Regions from separate parts of the Homo sapiens genome. Here all the other regions are linked to region 3. The links are contacts of gene promoters, found by promoter capture Hi-C in blood cells and fetal thymus (Javierre and others, 2016). All regions are on one chromosome and are shown on one strand. Each heading gives the region's core, a stretch centred on a gene start or on the middle of the fragment in contact. The rest is flanking DNA. Distances are from core to core; before and after follow the strand shown.

Evidence for each region. The method cuts DNA at HindIII sites, captures the fragments that hold promoters and counts their contacts. A CHiCAGO score of 5 or more calls a contact.
Region 1: a fragment that was not itself captured here is called in contact with the fragment with the promoter of KCNN4 in region 3 in 2 of 17 cell types (activated CD4 T cells and fetal thymus); the score reaches 7.2 in activated CD4 T cells.
Region 2: a contact is called between the fragment with the promoter of CADM4 here and the fragment with the promoter of KCNN4 in region 3, in 8 of 17 cell types (total CD4 T cells, neutrophils, M1 macrophages and 5 more). The highest score is 8.7, in total CD4 T cells.
Region 4: a contact is called between a fragment that was not itself captured here and the fragment with the promoter of KCNN4 in region 3, in 14 of 17 cell types (activated CD4 T cells, M2 macrophages, non-activated CD4 T cells and 11 more). The highest score is 11.7, in activated CD4 T cells.
Region 5: a fragment that was not itself captured here is called in contact with the fragment with the promoter of KCNN4 in region 3 in 5 of 17 cell types (activated CD4 T cells, non-activated CD4 T cells, M0 macrophages and 2 more); the score reaches 9.3 in activated CD4 T cells.

Annotation. Positions count from the first base shown.
Region 1 is chr19:43,537,236-43,539,935 of GRCh38, forward strand. No RefSeq gene overlaps it. Among named protein-coding and RNA genes, the nearest start is that of ZNF575, 5.4 kb to the left of the region's middle. The HindIII fragment of the contact is 1,013 bases long and covers 813-1,825 here.
Region 2 is chr19:43,638,411-43,641,110 of GRCh38, forward strand. CADM4 (cell adhesion molecule 4) reads right to left here and starts at 1,440. Exons shown (of 9, transcript NM_145296.2): 1 at 1,317-1,440. The coding sequence starts at 1,380. RefSeq lists a silencer at 1,324-1,463. The HindIII fragment of the contact is 9,580 bases long and covers 1-2,700 here.
Region 3 is chr19:43,779,614-43,782,313 of GRCh38, forward strand. It overlaps KCNN4 (potassium calcium-activated channel subfamily N member 4), which reads right to left and starts at 1,360. Exons shown (of 9, transcript NM_002250.3): 1 at 1,090-1,360. The coding sequence starts at 1,248. RefSeq lists enhancers at 1-247, 606-735 and a silencer at 1,342-1,611. The HindIII fragment of the contact is 12,714 bases long and covers 1-2,700 here.
Region 4 is chr19:43,597,479-43,600,178 of GRCh38, forward strand. It overlaps ZNF576 (zinc finger protein 576), which reads left to right. Exons shown (of 3, transcript NM_001145347.2): 3 at 1,353-2,700. The coding sequence ends at 1,780. Among named protein-coding and RNA genes, the nearest start is that of ZNF576, 2.2 kb to the left of the region's middle. The HindIII fragment of the contact is 3,632 bases long and covers 1-2,700 here.
Region 5 is chr19:43,556,267-43,558,966 of GRCh38, forward strand. All of the region lies in intron 3 of XRCC1 (X-ray repair cross complementing 1), which reads right to left. Among named protein-coding and RNA genes, the nearest start is that of XRCC1, 18 kb to the right of the region's middle. The HindIII fragment of the contact is 4,144 bases long and covers 1-2,700 here.

The DNA of each region.
Region 1 (2,700 bases), core at 69-2,568, 240 kb before region 3:
AGGTTGCACCACTGCACTCCAGCCTGGGCGACAGAGAGCCTGCCTCAAAAAAAAAAAAAAAAGCAGCAGCAGCCAAGTCATTCATTCATCCATGTGTGTATGTATGTAGAGACAGGGTCTATGTTGCCCAGGCTAGTCTGAACTTCTGGACTCCCACTTTGGCCTCCCAAAGTGCTAGGATTACAGGCATGAGCCACCATGCCCGGCCCCAAGTCCATTTAGAAGAACAAGTAGGAGAGCCTTGGCTCCCCACCCCCTCAACCCAGATACAAGATTACAAAGCTGTGCAGTAATGAAATTGGTGGTGGTGGCTTGAAAACGGGCCAGTGGAAGACAATTGAGAGCTCAGAAACAGACCTGTGCTTATGCTGACATATGACAAACTGGACCTGTAGACCTGGGAGTGGCAACCTTTTTCTATAAAGGGCCAAAGAGTACAGATGTCCCCTGACTTAACAATGGTTTGATTTCAGGATTCTCCAACTTTATGATGGGTTCATCCGGATGTAGCATCATTGTAAGTCAAAGGGCATTGGGTTTTTTTTGTTTTGTTTTGTTTTGTTTTGTTTTTTAGACAGGGTCTTGCTCTGTTGTCCAGGCTGGAGTGCAGTGGCACAATCGCAGCTCATTGCCCTGAATTCCTGGGCGCAAGCGATCCTCCTACCTCAGCCTCCCAAGTAGCTGGGACTACAGGCAAGCACCACCACACCCGGCTTATTTATTTTTGAGATGGAGTCTTGCTTTGTTGTCCAGGCTGGAATGCAGTGGCATGATCGCCGCTCACTGCAACCTACCTCTGCCTCCTGGGCTCAAGCTTCTCCTACCTCAGCCTCCTGAGTAGCTGGGATTTCAGGTGTGCACCACCATGCCCAGCTAATTTTTGTATTTTTAGTAGAGATGGGGTTTCACCATGTTGACCAGGCTGGTCTAACTCCTGACCTCAAGTGGTCCACCTGCCTTGGCCTCCCAAAGTGCTGGAATTACAGACGTGAGTCACTGCGCCCAGCCCCCAGCTAAATTTTTTTTGTAAATTTTTTTGTAGAGATGGGGTCTCACTATGTTGCCCAGGCTGGTCTCAATCTCCTAGCCTCAAGTGATCTTCCTGTCTTGGCCTCCCAATGTCCTGGGATTCCAGGCGTGGGCCGCCAAGCCCAGCTGCATCTGTTATATGTTTAAGTTTTGCAGGCCATACAGTGTCTTCCACAACTATTCCACTCTGCCACTGTAGCAGGAAAGCAGCCACACACATTACAATACATAAATGAATGAGCATGGCTGTGTTCCAATAAACATTTACCAAAACACTAGGTAGGCTGGATTTTGCCTATGGGCTATAGTTTGTTGAGCCTTGACATGGATGAGTGGAGGATGGACAGACTAATCATAAATAAGGCTAAGAGACATGGGGAAAAATTAAGTTGAATCCCCTGGTATGTAGAAGAATGATCCCCCAAAGATATCCACATTTGAATCCCCAGAACCTGTATGTTAGCTTGCATGTAGCAAAAGGGACATTGCAGATGTGATTGAGATGGGTAAGTTATCCTGATTATTCAGATAGGCCCAATATAATCACAAAGGTCCTTATATGGGAAAGAAGGACGCAGAAGACAGAGAGAGGTGATCATGAAAGCAAACATTCGAGTGATGAAAGGCCCCAAGTCAAGGAATTTTGCCTACAAAGGGCAAGGAAATAAATTCCTCCTTAGAGCCTCCAGAAGGATTGCAGCCCTGCTGACACTTGATTTTAGCCCAATAAGGCTGATTTTGGACTACTGACCTCCAGAACTATAATAAAATTAACTTGTGTAGTTTAAAACCACTAAGCTTATGGCAATTTGTTACAGCAACAATGGGAAACTACTGCAGATCCCTACCTCACACCATATGCAAAAACAAGTTTCTGGGAGTTTAAGATCTAAATCTGAAGAGAAGAACTCAAAAATATTTACATGGAAATAAGAAGAATTATCTTAGTAACTCCAGAAGTAGAGACAGTATCCTTAAGAGACAAAAGAATGTAAATCATAGATGAAAACATGGGTAAATGTGACCATAAATGAATGTAAAGTTATGACTAGGATGGATGAGATATAGTATTTTAAGAGTGTGTACCTGGCATATCCTATTATACAGTGGAGGTTAGGAAAGGCCTTGTTGAGGATGTAATGTCTGAACTGAGATCTGAAAGTTGTGGTGGAAGGAGTGAGAGAGTAGAAAGTGTCCATAGATTGGATAAAGAAAATTTGGTACATATACACCACGGAATACTATGCAGCCATAAAATGGAATGAGATCACATCTTTTGCAGGGACATGGATGGAGCTGGAAGCCATTATCCTCAGCAAACTAACGCAGGAACAGAAAATCAAACACTGCATGTTCTCACTTATAAGTTGGAGCTGAATGATGAGAACACATGGACATGGCCGGGCATGGTGCCTCACGCCTGTAATCCCAGCACTTTGGGAGGTGGAGGCGGGCATATCACCTGAGGTCAGTTCAAAACCAGCCTGGCCAACGTGGCAAAACCCCCCTCTACTAAAAAACAAAAATTAGCTGGGCGTGGTGGCAAACGCCTGTAATCCCAGCTACTCGGGAGGCTGAGGCACAAGAATCCCTTGAACCCAGGAGGCAGAGGTTGCAGTGAGCCAAGATCATGCCACTGCACTCCAGCCTGGGCGACAGAGTGAGACTCTG
Region 2 (2,700 bases), core at 190-2,689, 140 kb before region 3:
ATGCCACCTGGTTATAACTCCTCTCACCAATCTCTGCCGAACACCCAGCCCTCCTGCTTCTGCCTAGCCACCTTCCAATCCTCTGTTCCTTCCAAAAGTGGCCTTATCCACCAGGGAGGGGTGACCCGTGGCAGGTTCAAGACTTACACAGTGTGAGAGTGTGTGTGGGTGACATTTCCTGACCTTGTCCCCATTCTCAGGGTCACCCAACCTCGGGGGTCTCCAGCTTCTCACAGTGTGTGATGAGGGTATGTGGATGGCTCCCTGGATGTCCTGGACAGGGGCTTCTCTGTGAGTCAAGCCTGGGTGTGTGAATGGGTGAGCAGGGTTTGGAGAGGCATTCGCTGAATCCACGTGTGTGCCTACACGCCAAGGTCCCCCATTCTCACTTCCCCACACACATGCACACAGATGTTCCCCTCCAGGGCTCTTTAGAATGCCCTGCCTGACTGAATTCCTCTTCAGGGGCACAGAGGGATAGAGAGAGGGAGGAAGGTAGGATGGGAATGGGAGATCCCGGGATGGAGGCTGTAAGCGTAGAGAGAGGAGGCACAGCAGAAAGACAGGGATGGAGATAGTGGGACAGAGAAGGGGGAAAGAGACAGGTGACAGAAAGGGTTAGAGAAACGAGTGACAGAAAGACAGGGGACAGAGACAAGGGGATGGGGCAGATAGGGGACAGAGAAAAAGGGACAGAAAAACAAGGGTGACAGCGAGACAGAGACAGGGACCAAGAATAGGGGCAGAGAGGGAGGGCAGAAATCCGGGGGAAAGAGAATAGACAGGATGATGGAGGGGACAGAGTGACCCAGGAAAAGGGGACAGAGACCAGGGGACAGAGGTAGGGGACAAAGACAGAATAGATGAGGAACACCGAGGCAAGAAGAGAGGGAGACAGACAGAAGGAGGGACAGGACTTCGAGACTGAGGGATAGAGGACAAGGGTAGGGGGACGAGGAGCCAGACGGGGGGGTTCAGAGACGGGCGGACAGAGGGACGCAGAGACTGGACAGAAGGACAGCGGGACCGGCCTGGGGAGGGCGGACTTGTGTGTGTAGGGGGGTCTCGGGCCCTTTGTCCCCGCCGGGATCCAGCCTGCGCGGGTGGGGGGGCTGCGGCACGGCGGCCGGGCCCCGCGCCCCCTCCCCCGCTCGTCGCTCCCGGCTCCCGGCCCGCGCTGCGCTTTGTCCCGGGGAGGGGGCCCGGCCCGGCCCCGCGCGCATTGTTCGGCCTCTGCGGCCCCGAGGCTGCCGGGCTGTCACCACAGCGCGCCCCCCGCCCCAGCCCGGCCGGCCGACCCCGGCCCCCGACCCTACCTGGCCCCGCCGCGGCCGCCCACAGCAGCAGCAGCGGCCACTGGAAGCGCCGGGCCCGGCCCATGGTGCCGCCGCCGCCGCCGCCGCCGCTCGCTCCCGGCCCGGCACCTGCACCGCCCGCGCCGCCCGCCCCGCCCCCCGCGCCCCGCCCCCTGCCCGCCCGGGGGCGGGGCGCCGAGGCCGGGGCGGGGCCGGGGAGGGGAGGGGGAGACGGAGGAGAGGCCCGGAGACAATCGGGGGGACGGCACGGTGGGGGAACGGTGCGGGGTGCGAAAGCTGGAGAGGAGAGGGGTGAGGAGGGCGGGAAGGGGTGCGCGGGAGGGCGACAGCGGCGTGGGAGCAGGTGGGGGATCTCGGTGAGCGCGGGAAATGGAGGGTGTTGGGTGAGGGTGCTGCGTGCGGGCCCAGGTGCTGCGCGCGAGGGTGCGGAGTTGCTGGCATGCAGGGTGCTTGCGCTGCGCGGAGGGGAGGGTGGCAGGGTGTTGCTGGAGGCTGTGCGAGGGTGGGGGCGCGGGCGTCGTGGGGTGCGGTGTGTGCGAAGGGAGAGCGTGGCCAGCGTGACGGGGGAGCGTAAGGGAGGGAGTGCGACGTGGGAAAGGTGAGTGTGAGAGGCGTGCTGCGGGCAGGTGGGTGTCTGGAGTCTAGCGAGAGGCTGTGAGCTGAGCCACCGGGACAGGGGAGGCTGCAGCTGGAGGTCCGGAGGGTCCGGAGGTCGAGGCAGGTCAAGGATCTCCCAGGGCAGGGCGAGGCTGGGGCTCAGGAGTGGGGTGGGGTCAGTTCCCTCCCTCCCTCTCTCCTGTCCTGACCTGAAAACCCCGTGTTTCCGCGTCATTCTCCGGGAGGGGCCCCCTGAAAGTGAACTAACTGGAAGGAAGCCTGAATCCTGGGTCCCAGGAGGGAGAGGCTCCTGTGAACACCTTCCAAGCCCTGGCGTCCCCTCTCCTCCCTGCTGTCTCCCTGCCCCAGCCTCTCTCCCTCTCTCTGCATGTATTTGCCTCTGCCCTTCCTCTCTCCCCATCTTTGAGGGTGACTCACCCCTCCAGACTTAGGTCCCTTCTCCCTCCTGGGAGTGGGTTTCCCTGAGCCCACTTCTGTGACACCCTGTAGACCTGATGCGGGATCATTACCTATGGGACCCAGAAAGAGTGAGAAACCATGGAAAGAAGGCCTCGACCTCTCTCATGCCCATTTGTCAGGCAAACTGAGGTCCAGAAGTGCCAATTATGAACATCTTTCCTTCCCCCCTCCCCCCTCCCCGCCCAGACGGAGTCTCGCTCTGTTGCCCAGGCTGGAGTGCAGTGGCACGATCTCGACTCACTGCAACCTCTGCCTCCCAGGTTCCAGTGATTCTCCTGCCTCAGCCTCCCGAGTAGCTGAGATTACA
Region 3 (2,700 bases), core at 110-2,609:
AACCCTTGTCCTTGATCTGCCCCATCACTGGCCTGACCAGGGCTGGAATGTGACGGGAGCCTGCTGAGACCTGCCCTGACCCCACTTTCCCCTTTCTTCCCTACTCACCACTCATCTTCGGAGTCAGCCCCTCTTCCCCAAAAGCAATCAAAACCCCCTTCTCCTTAAGACTCAGGAATCCAGGACCCAGCCCCCTCCTCTCCTGGTACCTAGGAGTCCAGGCCACTGTAAGCCTACCTCTCCACTATTTCCCTGACTAATCAGCATGCAGATTTGGGGAGAAATTGAGCTTGTTAACAGTGGAGACTGGGTTGGGGTTGGTGGGGGGAGGCAGGTCGGGGGAGAGGTTTGTTTCCCATTTCCCATCCCCACCCCCAAGGCAGTTTTTTCTGTCCTTTGCATCTAAGGCACTGGGTAAACATTAGAGGTTAGACAAGGACCAAAGAGCTGCCGCCTACTGGAAGAACTTTGTCTTTCCTCCACTCTCCCTTCACCAAACCTGGGGCTACCTCTCCCCTTATTGGCTCTTGGGGGGCTTGAGTGTCTGATCAGCCACCCTCTGGCCTCCAGGGGTCCTGGACCTCTGGCCGTCTAATGGCAACATCTTCAAAGACTGAAACACTGAAACAAATATTCCCTTCCTTTTGCAGAGAAGGACCCCAGCAACTGTCTCCTGGGAGCACCCAGGAGTCCCAGCCAAAGCCCCTCCTCCCTCAGACCCAAGAGTCTAGGCCCCCAACCTCTCCTCCCTCAGATCCAGGAGTCCTGACCCCCAGCCCCTCCTCCCTCAGACCCAGGAGTCCAGACCCCAGCCCCTCCTCCCTCAGACCCAGGAGTCCTGACCCCCAGCCCCTCCTCCCTCAGACCCAGGAGTCCAGGCCCTCAGTCCCTCCTCCCTCAGACCCAGGAGTCCAAGTCCCCAGTCCCTCCTCCCTCAGACCCAGGAGTCCTGACCCTCAGCCCCTCCTCCCTCAGACCCAGGAGTCCTGACCCCCAGCCCCCCCTCCCTCAGACCCAAGAGTCCTGACCCCCAGCCCCTCCTCCCTCAGACCTAGGAGTCCCAGCTCCCAGCCACCATGCCCCACTCACCGAGCACCCCCCGAACCACAGCATCTCTGCATGCAGCACCATGAGTCCAATGCCAGTTCCTGCCAGCACCAGTGCCCAGCCGGCCAGAGACTTCTCCTGCTCCAGCAAGCGCTTTCGGCGTCTCAAGGCCCCCAGGCCAAGCACCAGATCCCCGCCCATGGCCCCCGGGGTCTTGGGGCTCAGCCAGCTTCCTGCCCAGGGTCCCCCACCTCGCAGCACGCACAGGGCAGCCACTGTGGCTTGCAGGTCGTCAGCCTGCTCTGCTGGCTCTGGGACTTTTGCTCTGAGGCACAGCAGAGCCCTGTGCCCTCTGGGGAGTGGTGACGGCCAGGCAGGGCGGGGAGGGGCAGGGGAGGCCCCAGGGTAGGGGGAGGCTCCCCAGCTCCCCCTTTTGAGAATAAGGAGGGGCTAGGGTGTGTCTTGGGGCAGAGCAAGAAAGAGACGTCCATCCACGTGGATAAAGACACACACAGACACACGATGGGCTTTGTCACACACAATGGTCTGTACTTTGTGACACACACCTCTACTCACCACACCCAGACACCGAAGGACACTCCACAGCCCAAGACGGAGACTAACACACCAGGGCACACAACACAACCTACACAGAGTGACTCACAACTCCCAGCAAGCTCTGAAACCCACAGCCACACCCAGACACCACACACATGGTGTGACACACACCAGCACTTAGCAAGCAGGCAGTATCCCGTGGCACACACAGCCACCCAAACACCGTCCACACACAGGCACAAATATTACACTCAAAGTTGTCACAACTTTCTCTGACACAAAGAGCCACACCCAAACACCACAAATAGGACGATGCACAACTGTGGCCACACAAACACAACATACACCAGGTGTTACACAAACACACAATATATATTAAAGTAGTGACGCCCTGATGCCACACACCACACACCGACACAAACACTGTGCAGTCCCAGTTTCCTAAACACTACACACCCTTGGAACGAAACCCAATACGTGTAGACACACAACATTTAGGGACATACCTATAGTAGCCCCCAATCACCCAGAGCTAGAGAATTGCACATACATTGTGGCGCCTGTTGACTCGAACACAAGTGCTCGCAGTGATGATTCAAAACACGCACTGATTCAGCATGCTCTGATGTGTGGTGCGATTCAAATGTATGGTCAGAGGACAAGCTGAGTGGATGCATGCAGAGACCTACAAGGTACAGCGACACACGGAGAAACCCAAGAAGCACATGCCTGAAGCAAGATGATTCTGGTATATTCTGGCCACACAGGACAACATCCAGGATGATGCCCTGGGGGAAGGGGATGGGGTTGGACCTTCATAGACCCCAGTGCCCAAATGCAACATACGGCTGGGTGCAGTGGCTCATGCCTGTAATCCCAGCAGTTTGGGAGGTTGAGGTGGGAGGATTGCTGGAGCCCAGGGGTTTGAGACCAGCCTGGGCAACATAGCAAGATCCTATCTCTAAAACAAGCAAAAACAAAAAAACAAACGCAACATACACCATCACCTCTGAGCCATGAGCCACACCCAAACATGACATACAATACCTCCACACAACCCAACACGTTATATTCCAACATGCGTGGCCACACAAC
Region 4 (2,700 bases), core at 9-2,508, 180 kb before region 3:
GTTCTATTGGGAGAGAAACCCCAAGATTCTGGTCCCAACTCTGCCCTAGACTTTCAGTGTAACTTGGGCCTTGGTTTCCTTGACTGTCAAAAGAGGGTGGTACTTCCCACCTCACAGGGTGGGTATGGGATTAACTGCAGCAAAGGGGAAAGCTAGGGGTTAATGATGGTAGCCAGTTTGACATGTAATAGCAACACCTCCTGCTCAGTGTTTTATTATGAGCTAGGTGTATTTATTCTCATATTATGAACCATTTTAACATTCATTATCTCATTGAGTCCTTCTAATAATAGGCCCTTTAAACTGGGAACTGAGGCAGAGAGAGGTATTTGTAACAAGAGCTGTAGTCTCAATGCCCTTGAGCCAGAGACTACCAGGAACACACCTGCAGTTGAACACGTTGGGTTTCTCACTGCAATGAACACAGACCATGGGGGGACTGTGGGGTGTCTCACTAAGAATGGTAAAAACGACACAGGATTTGGGCTTGTGGGTGGTGATTTTGGGGAAGGTTCAAGCAAAATTGTTTTGCTCTGGATTGGATGCTACCAGGAAGCAGGGGCAATTCTATGATTGGCTATCGTAATAAATCTTACCCAGAAGGAGGAAGGAAGGAGGCGAGGCTCAAGCTCTGACTGATAAAGCAGCAGCAGACATTCACATTAGCCAGGATAGGAGGATGTTTGGTCATTTTTCTGCTTGGACAGTATTCATATTTTGTCTGTGCTCAGACATTATGATGATGTAGTCTTGTCTTGATTCATTTTAGTCACAGCGTGGCCTTGTCTGTCCTTGATATTCTGTGAAAATTTATGTTCAACAGAACACCAAGGTCTAGCTGTGAGTACCAGGCCAGATCCTGGATGTCGGGCTGGATTTCTCTGTATCATTAGTCATAATTGCAAATGACTGTACAGCAATTCATTTATTCCTTCCAACGGTCCTATGGAGTAGATACTGTTATTAGCCCATTTTCCAGATAAGGAAACTGGTGTAATTGCCTAGGAAGTGGTGGAGGTGAGATTCAATCCCAAGCAGTCTGGCTCCAAAGGCTGTGCTGTAATCACCATACCCCTCTGTTGGGCAGGCTGACTCTCTGGGTTCCAACCCTGGCTCCACCATTTCCTTTCCTAGCCTCATGACTATGGGCAACTTGCCTAACCTCTTTGAATCTCAGTTTGCTCATCCATAAAATAGGTGCAAGAACAGTTCTCCTGTTTGGTTGTCCAGCATTAGCATAGAACCTAGCACATAACACATTCAATGTTAATTGTTGGTGTGATTCTGGGGTTCAGGAAGAGGTCTTGGAGACTCCTGCTGGCCTCCCCTGACCTCTCCCCCACATTCCTCAGGCCACCTGGGGGCCCCGAAGTGCACCCGCTGCCTCATCACCTTCGCAGATTCCAAGTTCCAGGAGCGTCACATGAAGCGGGAGCACCCAGCGGACTTCGTGGCCCAGAAGCTGCAGGGGGTCCTCTTCATCTGCTTCACCTGCGCCCGCTCCTTCCCCTCCTCCAAAGCCCTAATCACCCACCAGCGCAGCCACGGTCCAGCCGCCAAGCCCACCCTGCCGGTTGCAACCACTACTGCCCAGCCCACCTTCCCTTGTCCTGACTGTGGCAAGACCTTTGGGCAGGCTGTTTCTCTGAGGCGGCACCGCCAGATGCATGAGGTCCGTGCCCCTCCTGGCACCTTCGCCTGCACAGAGTGCGGTCAGGACTTTGCTCAGGAAGCAGGGCTGCATCAACACTACATTCGGCATGCCCGGGGGGAGCTCTGAGTGCAGCTTAAGCCTCTCCACGGTGACGGGTGGCTCTGTGGCTGGTAGGACTCACCCATGATATGGGGTGCAGGAACTCTGGGGGCCCTGAAGGATTTGCTTCCCTCCCCTGGGAAGGCAGAGGGCTCTTAATAAAGAGGACCCAGAAGATTCTTATTTAGAGCTTCAGTCTTTGGAGCACACAGGGCCTTCGTGAGACAGTGAAATCAGATAATAATGAGATCTTTTGTTAAAAAAAAAAAATGGGAAGGGAGTGCGGGAGAGAAATGGTTTGTGTCTCCCTTATTCCCAGTTAAATACCTAGCTGCAGATTGTGCCATCACCCTTCATTCTTCCCAGATGGATGCCATGGGCTATGGGAGCAAATTGCCCTGGACCTTTGCCTGAATGGGGGCAGGAAAGGTGAGGTGTTGCTGGCCTGTAATGCCACCAGGTGAGTTCCAGATGTGGAGCAACTTGGGCTTTTGGGGATGGGGCAGCAAAGTTGGGAGCTGGACCCCAATTGAGTGGGGGTAGCAATTGGAGTCCTTGTGTCTCTTTTCCACCCCCTGCCATCCTCACTTAGAGGGGCCATGGCACTAGATGGCACTAGTCCCCCGATAATTTATGTCTCGTTGAAATAATTTTGTATATCATTCTAGTCCTGAAATATTTTTTTCATATGTGTAGGTGAAATGGTATGAATAAGCTAACAGGAATAGTATCTAAAAACAGAAAACATCCATATTAAAATGTCTAAACAGGGAGCTCTGGCTTTTGAGTGGGAATTTCCAGAGAACATAAGGGTGTGGGCAGGTGGGGGAACTCAGGCCAGAGTTGGCCTCGCTTTGTGGGGAAACTGGTTTGGAATCAAACAGAGATACCTTCTGTTTCGGGTTTTATTTGGCCAACACTGGGAGATTTCCCATTAAGATCCTATT
Region 5 (2,700 bases), core at 13-2,512, 220 kb before region 3:
TGGCATCTCAGAGATCCTCACCACACTGCATAGAACTGAGGACTCCCCAAAGGCAACGCCCACACTAGTTACATGAAGGGGAAATAAGCCTGTGGAAAGAGTCCCTGGGAGGCCTGTCTGTCTTGGCCTTAGCTTGGGGGGACACCAAAGAAGAGGTGAAAATTCTTCTCGGGAGAACTCCTCACAAGTCTGTTCTCTCAAGGAATTGAGAGTAGCAATTCATGTTAGCAATCTGCATTGAAAAACCCAAGCTGAGGCCAGGCGCGGTGGCTCACGCCTGTAATCCCAGCACTTTGGGAGGCCAAGGCAGGCGGATCATTTGAGGTTAGGAGTTCAATACCAGCCTGGCCAACATGGTAAAACCCCATCTCTACTAAAAATACAAAATTTAAGCCAGGCATGGTGGCAGACGCCTGTTGTCCCAGCTACTCGGGAGGCTGAGGCACGAGAATTGCTTGAACCCAGGAGGCGGAGGTTGCAGTGAGCTGAGATCGCACCATTGCACTTAAGCCTGGTGGACAAGAGGCCAGGAGTTCAAGACCAGCCTAGCCAACATGGTGAAACACCGTCTTTACTAAAAATACAAAAATTAGCTGGACATGGTGGTAGGCACCTATAATCCCAGCTACTCGAGAGGCTGAGGCACAAGAATCGCTTGAACCCAGGAGTTGGAGGTGATGGTGAGCCGAGATTGTGCCACTGCATTCCAGCCTGGGTGACGGAGCAAGACTCTGCCAAAAAACAAAAAACGAAACAAAAAGACTGGGCACAGTGGCTCACACCTGTAATCCCAGCACTTTGGGAGGCCAAAGCAGGCAAATCACGAGGTCAGGAGATCGAGACCATCCTGGCCAACATAGTGAAACCCCATCTCTACTAAAAATACAAAAAAATTAGCTGGGCATGGTGGCGCGTGCCTGTAGTCCCAGCTACTCGGGAGGCTGAGGCAGGAGAATCACTTGAACCCAGGAGGCGGAGGTTGCAGTGAGCCAAGATTGCGCCACTGCACTCCAGCCTGGCAATAGAGCGAGACTCCGTCTCAAAAAAAAAAAAAAAAAAAAAAAAGATGAATGCAGCCACTTTTGGTTGGGTATATTTTGTTACTGACTTAGTCTCTTTTCTAACTGACATGCTGTGAAATTATAAAATTGGACAATAAAGCCTTTTGCTGAGAAAAACAGAACATAACTATAGCTCTCTTTGTGCACAGCTGATTATGCAAAGGAAACAAGAAAGACAATTATACAGAAGGGAAGTTTTCTTCCTGACCTTGACTATACTTGTTTATAAAAGGCCTGATTTGGAGCTGACAGGGAAGCTGCATTTATCATCTGGTGACTAACATGGGAAAACCCTGTCCTACTAAATACAAAAAAAATAGCCATGCATGGTGGCACAGGCCTGTAATCCGAGCTACTTGGGAGGCTAAGATGGAGAATCGTTTGTACCTGGGAGGCGGAGGTTGCAGTGAACCGAGATTGCACCACTGCACTCCAGCCTGGGCAACAGGAGCAAAATTCCATCTCAAAAAAAAAAAAAAAAAAAAAAAAAAAGGAAGGAGGGAGGGAAGGAGGGGAGGGAGAATGGAAGGAAGGAAGGCTCCTGTGACTTTGGGTTTGTGCCTTTGATGTTTTTGAAGAGTAGAGGTCAGTGATTTTTGTCAGATATCACTTATTGTACAAAGTATCTGATGTTTCCTTGTGATTAATTTAGGTTGCACACTTTGGCCAGAATACCACAGAAGTGATGTGTAATATACAGTTTATTTTGTATATTGACTTCTCATCTTGTGACCTTCACTTACTAAACCTTGTAGTTTGTCTAGATCTCTTGGGATTTTCTGCATAGACAATCATGCCATCTGTGAAAAAAGATAGTTTTCTTTTTTCTTTTTCTCACCTTGTCACACTGACTAGTGCAAAGTTGGGCATGGTGGTGCAAGCCTGTAGTCCCAGCTACTTGAGGGGCTGTGGAAGGAGGATCACTTGAACCCGGGAGGACAAGGCTGCAGTGAGCTGAGATCGTGCCACTGCACTCCAGCCTGGGTGACAAAGTGAGACCTCGTTTCAAAAAAAAAAGAGTAGGCCAGGTACACACAGCAGCTCACATGTGTAATCCTAGCACTTTGGGAGGCCGCAGCAGGTGGATCACCTGACCTCAGGAGTTCAAGACCAGCCTGGGCAACACAGTGAAACCCTATTTCTACAAAAAATATTTAAAAATTAGCCGGGCATGATGGCTCCCACTAGCTACTTGGGGGGCTGAGGCGGGAGGATCACTTGAGCCCAGGAGGCAGAGGTTGCAGTGAGCTGAGATCATGCCACTGTACTCCAACCTGAGCAACAGAGTGAGACCCCCATCTCAAATAAATAAATAAATAAATAAATAAATACATATATACATAAATAAATAATATGGTTAAAAAAAGAGACAGTTTGGTATTGGCATAAAGAAAACTATACATATCAATGGAACAGAGAAGAGAGTACAGAAATAAACCCATACATATGGTTAATTAATTCTCAACAAGGAGTCAAAATGATTCAATGAGAAAAGGCAAGTCTTTTTTTTTTTTTCAAAGTATTTTCAGCCAGGTGCAGTGGCTCAGGTCTGTAATCCCAATACTTTGGGAGGCCAAGGTGGGAGGATCACTTTAAGCTCAGGAGTTCAAGACCAGCCAGGCAATGTAGTGAAACCCCA